Regions from separate parts of the Homo sapiens genome. Here region 2 is linked to region 1. Evidence: promoter capture Hi-C in 16 types of primary human blood cells and fetal thymus (Javierre and others, 2016). All regions are on one chromosome and are shown on one strand. Each heading gives the region's core, a stretch centred on a gene start or on the middle of the fragment in contact. The rest is flanking DNA. Distances are from core to core; before and after follow the strand shown.

What was found. The method cuts DNA at HindIII sites, captures the fragments that hold promoters and counts their contacts. A CHiCAGO score of 5 or more calls a contact.
Region 2: a contact is called between a fragment that was not itself captured here and the fragment with the promoter of GMNN in region 1, in 1 of 17 cell types (monocytes). The highest score is 5.9, in monocytes.

Annotation. Positions count from the first base shown.
Region 1 is chr6:24,773,082-24,778,024 of GRCh38, forward strand. GMNN (geminin DNA replication inhibitor) reads left to right here and starts at 1,856. Exons shown (of 7, transcript NM_015895.5): 1 at 1,856-2,163; 2 at 4,141-4,216. The coding sequence starts at 4,166. RefSeq lists an enhancer at 2,771-2,850. The HindIII fragment of the contact is 2,242 bases long and covers 777-3,018 here.
Region 2 is chr6:25,972,733-25,977,553 of GRCh38, forward strand. It overlaps TRIM38 (tripartite motif containing 38), which reads left to right. Exons shown (of 8, transcript NM_006355.5): 6 at 322-344; 7 at 441-553. Among named protein-coding and RNA genes, the nearest start is that of TRIM38, 12 kb to the left of the region's middle. The HindIII fragment of the contact is 2,823 bases long and covers 512-3,334 here.

The DNA.
Region 1 (4,943 bases), core at 606-3,105:
CAGCCTCAGCCTCCCAAAGTGCTGGGATTACAGGCATGAGCCATGGTGCCTAGTGGTTGCTGAAATTTTTATGGCTAAACATTTTCCAGTATTTCTACCTCCTTATCCCATCATTTAATCCTTTTTAAATTAATATTTTAAAAATTTTATTATTGGCCAGGTGCAGTGGTTCACGCCTGTAATCCCAGCACTTTGGGAGGCCAAGGTGGGCAGATCACACGATCAGGAGTTCAAGACCAGCCTGGCCAACATAGTGAAACCCTGTCTCTACTAAAACTACAAAAAATTAGCTGGGTGTGGTGGCGGGCACCTGTAATCCCAGCTACTTGGGAGGCTGAGGCAGGAGAATCGCTTGAACCCGGGGGGGGCAGAGGTTGCAGTAAGCCGAGGTTGCACCATTGCACTCCAGCCCTGGTGACAGTGCAAGACTCCGTCTCAAAAAAAAAAATTATTATTGAAAATCCCAAACAGATATAAAAGTAGAGGGAGTGAATAAAAAATCTTCATGTACTCATCCATACTAGCCTCAGCAGTTATCAACACAAGGCCAATACTGTTTTATTCGCACCAGTGGTTCTCAACTGGGGATGATTTTGCCCTGCGGAAGGTTATCTGACAAGGTCTGCAGACATTTTTGGTCTTCACAATTGGGATGTACTCCTGGTAGCTAGAGGGTAGAGGCCAGGGATACTGCTAAACAGCATACAATGCCCAGGACAGCCCCCACCACGAACAATTTGCCCAGTCTAAAATGTCAATAGAGCCCATACTGAGAAAGCTTGATTTATACCTTTTCCCTTGCTTCTCTCAATAATTATTTCAAATAAAATATATGGTATAAAATTTCATCTGTAATTACCATTTATAGGTAGAAGCTATTACAATAAAACCCACAATATTGTCATTACAACTAATCTCTTTTTTTAACCCATTGCTCATCAGGTAACCTTAAACAACTCATATCTTACCATCCCAAAATATTCAGTCAGTGTTCAAATTTCCCTTGGGTATTTTTTTAAATACAGTGTTTAGTTCAGACGAGATCCATACATTGCATTTGGTAATATGTCCCTTATTTGTACTCGATAACGCCTTCCTTCTGCTTTTTATTTTTAAAATATTTTAAAATTAATTTTTTTTTGAGACAGGGTCTCCCTTTGTCTGTAGTCCCAGCTACTCGGGAGGCTGAGGCAGGAGAATCGCTTGAACCCGGGAGGCGGAGCTTGCAGTGAGCCGAGATCGCGCCACTGCACTCCAGCCTGGGTGACAGAGCGAGACTCCGTTTCAATTAAAAAAAAAAAAAAGAAGGAAAAGGCTAGACGTAATTATTACCAAGGTGTTTCTGCTCCTTCAAATTGCAACAGCAGTTGTAATTTCAGTGCCTAGAACAGTAGTAATTGGCACGTATAAGGCGCTCAATGAATAGCTGCAGGATTAACTGATAATCGGTTGTCTCCTGAACAATTCCTACCGCACCACACCATAGTCAAAACACAAAAAGCCAAAATATAAAAGCCCCTAATACAACTACGAGTCCGTGGAGCCAGGGCTTTACACAAATATATGTCGTGTACTACATATTAATATATATGCACATACAATATTTTGTTCTTCTGGTGCTAACGACTAATGGAGGCAAATCTTTCTCCCTTTCGTAAAGGGCTAAAACTTTGCATTTTAAGGAAGTTCCAAGAGCAGGGTCGGAGGGGAGGGTCAAAGGGCACAGGCCTCCCAGCCCGCAGAAAACCCCCACGGTCCTCAAGTACTCGCTACCGTTGACCGCGCAGGCGCAGGAAGGGGCGGGGCCGAGGGAAGAGGCGATTCGCGGGATCCAGAGGCCCCGCCCCTCGTCTGCGTCAGTTGGTCACGTGGTTGTTCGGAGCGGGCGAGCGGAGTTAGCAGGGCTTTACTGCAGAGCGCGCCGGGCACTCCAGCGACCGTGGGGATCAGCGTAGGTGAGCTGTGGCCTTTTGCGAGGTGCTGCAGCCATAGCTACGTGCGTTCGCTACGAGGATTGAGCGTCTCCACCCAGTAAGTGGGCAAGAGGCGGCAGGAAGTGGGTACGCAGGGGCGCAAGGCGCACAGCCTCTAGACGACTCGCTTTCCCTCCGGCCAACCTCTGAAGCCGCGTCCTACTTTGACAGCTGCAGGGCCGCGGCCTGGGTAAGGGCGAAGGGGTTGTTGAACGGTCGCGGGAGCCGGGGCGGGGTTGGGAGGTGAGTCGAGGGACTGCCCCATTGGCTGGGTCGGTTTTGGCGCGCTCTCACTTCCGCGCTTCCTATTGGCTGGCTGGCGCAGTTCCCGAGGCGCGCGCCGCGGTTGGTAGGCTCGGACGCGCGGGGCCACACTGCCCGCCCCCTAGCCTGGCGCTGGGCCTCCGGGACAAGTTGGCTGGGTCCGGGCTTGGGGACTGCAACGCGGGTAAGGGACTCAGCCTGGGCTTGCCAGCTGTGGGGATGAGGCGAAGCATCCATCCTCTTGGCAGTTAAGTGGCTGGTCCTGATCTGAGGGATCTGCAAATTTGGCTCATGGAAAGAGGTGGCTGAATTCTGCGTCTCCCATTAAACGGATACTGGCGTTGTTGATACGGGTTTCGCATGGACCCTGTCCTGTGCCAGGGTTTTTAATCTAGCTATTAAAGGAACTGGAGAATAACAAGTAAGGGTTGCAAGGTCGCTGACAGGCGTGGGAAACTTGTGAAGGATTAGAATGCTAAGTGGCTTTCAGCTTTTTTCACACTAAGGTACGTTTTACGTCGCAACCTAGGACACAGCTATCTAACCAAATGAGACGTGATGGAAGCAATGTTTCTCGTCTCTTCAATTCCATTCTGTTCAGTTGCATTTTTCTAAGCAGTGTTGCTCATGACTCACTAATTTCGAGATCACGGCCCGCGACCCGCAGTTTGAAGAACATTGCGTAGGGTCTGTTTACTGGGGCCCGAACACCATTTTCTTAACATGAAATAGAGTAGAAAATAGCAGGATGCCCGCACAAATTAGATTGTTTTGTTTTCTAAGCTTTTTTTTTTTTTGAGACGGAGTCTCGCTCTGTTGCCCAGGCTGGAGTGCAGTGGCAGGATCTCGGCTCACTGCCACCTCCACCTGTCGGGTTCAAGCGATACTCCTGCCTCAGCCTCCCGAGTAGCTGGGACTACAGACGAGCACCACCACGTCCGGCTAATTTTTGTATTTTTGGTAGAGATGGAGTTTCACCATATTGGCCAGGCTGGTTTCGAACTTCTGACCTCAGGTGATCCGCTTGCCTCGACCTTCCAGCACTTTGGTGATCATGCAGGTGATCCGCCTGCCTCGACCTCCCAAAGTGCTGGGATTACAGATGTGAGCCACCACGCCCGGCCTTTCCTAAGCTTTTTTGTTTGCACATGTGTGTGCACGCGCCAGGACACAAGGTAAAATGTATTAATGTTAGAAGCCACTGCACTGAGTAAAGGCATGGCCACAAAAATTAGGGACATCTATCGACGAGGCACAGGCGCAGACACGGCAGGGGCCAATGGGTAGTGGGCAGTGGGCAGTGGGCAGTGGAGCAGCAGTTCAGATGCTGAGTTTGGCCCAGTGGTCTAGTCAACCGCATTACATAGATCCCTTTCTACCTTTTCCCTCTTTCTTGCTTGTTAGTCCTTCAGTTCATGTTACTGGTTAAACATTTCCTACAAATGTAAATGCATGATCTCATTTGACCAGATATTAAGTCTGTGTTAAGTTATTGTCAGAGCCCAGTTTATTATACCTTAAATCTGTCTTTGAATCAGGAAAGTTAAGATGCTGCTCTTTAGGATGGACCTGGGCATACCCTAGTATCTGTTTATTTTGCTTTTTCTGGTGACTATTTAATCCAGGACAATATGTTTAGAAATTTTAAACCAGTTTTAGAAATTGGTTTAAAATACATTAATTTCATTTTTTCAGCTATAATTATTATGTGTGTATATATGTAAAATATAGATATCAAGAGTCATTAACTTTAGTCACCTTAGTCATTGACAGGGCTGAGTTTGGATTAAGAGAGAAAAAATAATAGTTCTACTGTACAATAGTATAATTTTTATGATTGTAAGTATTTTAAACCTAGACTCCACCTTCGGGGGTGCAAACCATATTGTTTTTTAATTACTAGTCTTCTGTGCTTCACCATCTACATAATGAATCCCAGTATGAAGCAGAAACAAGAAGAAATCAAAGAGAATATAAAGGTATGTGATTGAATAACTTTAATTTTTTTTTGTAGAAAGCATGGGGCTAAAAGTATTTTGACATAATTTATCCAAATTTAGCCTGGCTATAATTTCTGTAAGCCTTGAGTTAGTCAGAGGATGAGTAACAATAGAGAACATTTTTAAAAAACTAATTACGGTTGAATATTAAGTCTGACCCAAGAATATGGGTTGTCTCTCTTATTTTGGTCTTTCAACAGTATTTTGTAGTTTTCAGAGCATGAATTTTACACTATTTATGTTAAATTTTTTCCTAAGTATTCTTTTTGAGGTTACTGTGAATGGAATTGTTTCCTTAATTTCATTCTCATTTGGTCATTGCTACTGTATAGGAAAATAATTGACTTTTGTGTCTTGATTTTGTGTCCTGAAACCTTGCTGAACTTAATAGTTCTAATTGTTTTTTAGTAGATTCTTCAGGATTTTCTTTTCTTTTTGTATTTTCTCTGTGAAGATTCCAGAAGTATCTTTAGGATTTTCTATGTATGAGATTATTACTGCTTTGTTTCTACTCTTATATTTCATGAAATGTTATTAAAATCCATTGTGTATATCTTCAGAATTAAGAGTCTTTGACCACAGACATGTTTTGCATTATATTACACATTTTTCTAGAGTATACCATATTCATTACCATCTAACCTATTTGATTTGTGATACTTTTTCAATCCCTATATGATACTTTCACTGGAAATCTTATTCCAAG
Region 2 (4,821 bases), core at 673-3,172, 1.2 Mb after region 1:
AAAGCTAGTCCTTACAGAGGGAGCATGGACAAAGCTCCTGGCCCTCAGACTTCAGCAAGGATGAGAATAGATGCAAATGTTGATAAACATCCTGCCATGCTGAATCTCCCAGAAGCTGGTAGGAATTATTCCATCTGGGTATCCATCAATACCTAAGACTGGTGGGAATTACTTTGTTTGAGTATCCATCAATATCTAAGACTAAGACTAGGGTAACTCTCTTTACTTCTTCGGGTAAAGCAAAGAAGAATAGCCCTGCATGACAAGCCCCATGAAATACCGATGTTCCCATGCTCACCTTTTCTTTTTGTTTCTTTATAGAATGTGAATGACACTTTGAGCAGGTAAGTCCTGTTTGAATGCAGGAGGGGAGGGGTGTGCGTATATAGAAATGAATGGAATGCACCTCTGAAGAAATCTCTCGCCTCTGCTTATTCTAGGAGTTGGGCTGTGAAGCTGGAAACATCAGAGGCTGTCTCCTTGGAACTTCATACTATGTGCAATGTTTCCAAGCTTTACTTCGATGTGAAGAAAATGTTAAGGAGTCATCAAGGTATGTTCACTAAAGAATTCCTGAATACTGTGGATAGAAGGGGCCTTATGCAGTAACCAAGTTTACCACCTGTCCCTTGGCAGGCTCACAGCCAGAGAGGTTGTTTAGTTAATTTCAGTAGAGCTTTCATACTTTCTCTAGTTAGTATGATTCACTGCTCAGTGAATGTGATGAGCATTGCATTCTGGTTATCTGTGCAAACCTTTCAAATTCTTATTCTTTCACTTATTAGCCATGTTACTCCAAGTGACTTGGTTTCCCCCTCTGAAAAATGAAAATATTAACAGCTCCTACTTCATTGAGTTATCATCAAAATTAAATGCATCAACATGTACAAAGTGCTTAGCCCTGTGACTGACACATGATCATAATAGCACATCATGGTATTAGATCTGATCATAGTGTTTATTATCAATAGCTCAGCCAACTCTTAGAGCAATGCAAGAAAAGTAGGTGAGTATGATAACCTATCATTCACATATTTTAGGAACTTGACTTAGATAACACAGATGACAAATGTTACAACCAATTTACAGATTCCAAAATGTTAGAACCATTTACTGAGTTTCCTGCTCCCTTGATTTTTTAAATCAGTGCTGACTATACTTTCACAAATTTGTATCCGTAAGTACAAAATCAAAAAAACCCCTGAAAATGGAAAGTTTTATCATGATTCATTTGGCTACAAAAATCTGGCCTAACCTGAAATGATTTGGTGGTTATATTAGTTATCTATTAGTACAAACAAATTACCATAATTTAGAACCTTAATACAACACTGATATGTTATCTCAATTTTTGTGGTTCAGGAATCTGGGCACAGCTTAGTTGGGCCTGCTGCTTAGGGTCTGATAAGGCTGCAGTTAAGGTGTTGGTCAGGCTGTGTTCTTATCTGGAGGCTAGGCTAAGGAAGAATCCACTTCCAAGCTCACTGAGGTAGCAGGCAGAATTTCTTTCCTGATGGTTGCAGGACTTTGGCCCTGGTTATTTCTGGCTGTTGGCTGGAGGTTGCCCACAGCTTCTACAGGCCACCCCTCAGCTCTTTGCACATGGGCTTCTAACATGGCCAGTTATTTCTTCAGAGAGAGCTCAGGAGACAGACTCTTTAGAGAAAATCTGCCAGCAAGATGGAGTCTTACATAATGAAACGTAATCATAGAAATTATATCCCATCATCTTTGCCATATCCTATTGGTCAGAAGCAATTCATAAGCCCTGCTCACACTCAAAGACAAGGAATTTTACGAGGGTGTGAACACCAAGAGGCAGGAATCATAGAAGGCCACCCTTGAGTCTGTCTTCCACAGTGGCCAACCCTGAACGGCACTGAGATGAGACTATTTAAAAGTCTTTATTTATCCCACTTAATTTGAATAAATGTTTTGCTGCAGATATATTGATGAATTTGATTACAGGGCTCTGCCTTAGGCCATGATGGGGTTGAACTTTAGAGTATATGCATTTTTTTGCCTTTATAACTTCTAAACTAATTTGAATGGCAAAGCCCATTTTGTTCCAGGGATTTCAGAAAAGGAATTATAGACCTGTGTTCCCCTCAAATACACAACAACAAACAACAACAAAACCCAAAAGCACTCTGTATTTCATCCTATACAGATGACAGGAAGGAAGAACAAGACTTTGTGTAAGTTTTGCTGGGATTTCACTGAGTCAATTTGCCTACTCTCATCTTTTACAGAAGGAATCATAATATGGTTCAAGTGAAACTATTTCTTTCTTTCTTTCTTTCTTTTTTTTTTTTTTTGAGACAGAGTCTCGCTCTGTCGCCCAGGCTGGAGTGCAGTGGTGCGATCTCGGCTCACTGCAAGCTCCGCCTTCCGGGTCAAGTGAAACTATTTCTTAAATGGGCTTATCTTTTAACTAAATATTTCTCCCCTCTTAAACACTGTTTATTAAAATTTTTCTTTTTTCAAATTTTTTTTTGAGATGGAGTCTCGCTGTTACCCAGGCTGGCTTGCAGTGCCGCAATCTCAGCTCACTGCAGCCTCTGCCTCCTGGGTTCCAGCGCCTCAGCCTCCCGGGTAGCGTGGGATTACAGGTACGCACCACTATGCCTGGCTGATTTTTGTATTTTTAGTAGAGATGGGGTTTCACAATGTTGGCCAGGCTGGTCTCAAACCCCTGACCTCAGGTGATCTGCCTGTCTCTGCCTCCCAAAGTGCTAGGATTACAAGTGTTAGTCACTGTGCCCAGCTTTATTACAAAAGTGATAGGAATAAATTTTATTTTTATTTTTAAATGTATGTTTATTTTATTTTACATTGCCTTCAAGCAGATGCAACAAATACATTTTAATCAGTCAAACAATATAAAGGATATAAGGAGAAAGTTCAAGGTTTTTCCCACCCGTCTCCAATCTGACTTCTCTAGGTAGGGTGATCTATATCTTTCCCTAAGTTTGTACAAACGTAACATATATACACTGTCTCTTCTATGTTACTCGTTACTTTTTATGTCTAATATTCCATAAGAATATAATAAATATATGTAACCATATCCCTACTGATGGAGCTTCAGGCTGTTTTTAGAACTTAGTTATTACAATGTTGCTACAATAACTTTCTAGTCCATGCATCCTTATATCCTGGTGCTTTCATTTCTTTTGGGAACATACCCCAAACTGGGATTGCCGAGGTTGTTGTTAATCTTAATATATGGTACCATATTACTTGACTCAAAGTTGTAACATACACTCCTACCAGCACCAGGAATAATGACTCACATATACTGAGCACTCTTTAGTCTGTGACAGATTAGAAAAGCTTTACTTTTCTTGGTTCTTGTTTTATATCACAGTCCTCTCTATATGGGGCATTTTTGCTTTATAGAGGAGGAAATATGACACAGAGAGGTTAGGTGAGTGTTGTAGGATCTCATAACTAGAAGGTAGTCATAGAAAGAGTCTAGAGTCTAGAAACCACTCTCTCACCATTTTGCAATGTGGCAGAAAATGCAAAGTTGTTATTTACTTATCTCTTTTAGACAGGGTCTCACTCTGTCACCCAGGCTGGAGTGCAATGGCCCCATCATGGCTCCCTGCAGCCTTAAATTCCTGGGCTTAAGCAATCCTCCCACGTCAGCTTCCCCAGTAGCTGGGACCACAGGCAAGCACTGCCACGTCTGGCTAATTTTTTAAAAATTTTTTGTAGAAACACTATCTCTTTATTTTGTTCAGGCTGGTCTTGAACTCCTGGGCTCAAGCAGTCCTCTCGCCTCGGCCTTCTAAAGTGTTGGGATTACAGGCATGAACCACCATCTCCGGCCTGAAGTTTATTTAATCCATTGCCTTGTGGACTGGGCATTGAAGTTGTGTGTAGTTGGGTTTTTTTGTTGTTGTTGCTGTTGCAGACAATACTACTGTGAACATTCTTATCCATGCTTCCTTGTGTCCCGTAAATGTTCCCTCCAGGGAGATACCTTGGAGTGACATGCTGGTGTGAGGGATGCATATCATAATTTTACCAGATACTACAGATCTTGAAATTGTTCCAATTCTACCCCACAAGCAATATAAGAGCTCTCACTCCTCCAAAACTCCCTGAGTCTTTACTTATATAATTTATGATTTTGACAGTCTTACAGATTTAAAATGGTACCTAATTGTGTACTTAATTTGTGCTTTTCTGATTTCACTAGTGAGATTGAGATTCTTTTTGTATGTCCATTAGCCCTTCAGGCCTCTGTGATTTACCCATGATTTACTGTGGTTTAATAATTTTTATTGGGTTCTTTTCCTTATTGATTTATGGGAACTTATTATAGCTGATATCTTCTGGCATGTGGATGGCATTTTGCATTTTCATCCTGTTTTTTGATAAATAGGGTTTCAAAATTAAGTAGACACATTTTCCTTCAAGGTCTGTGTCTTTTATGTCCAAAGAGCTTAGTCATCAGTGGGCAGTGAATTTTATCACCTAATTAATTTTATTAGCCCCGTGTGCTATGCCTGTAGTTCCAGCTACTGGGGAGACTAGGGCAGGAGGATCTCCTGAGCCCAGGAGTTCGAGGCTGCAGTAAGCTATGATCACGCCACTGTACCCAGCCTGGGCAACAGAGCTAGACCCTGTCTATTAAAGGAGGAGGCCGGGTACAGTGGCTTACGCCTGTAATCCCAGCACATTGGGAGGCCGAGGCAGGAGGATCACTTGAGGGCAGGAGTTTGAGACCAGCCTGGCCAGCATTGTGAAACCCTATCTCTACTAAAAATACAAAAATTAGCCAGGTGTGGTGGTGTGCACTTGCAGTCC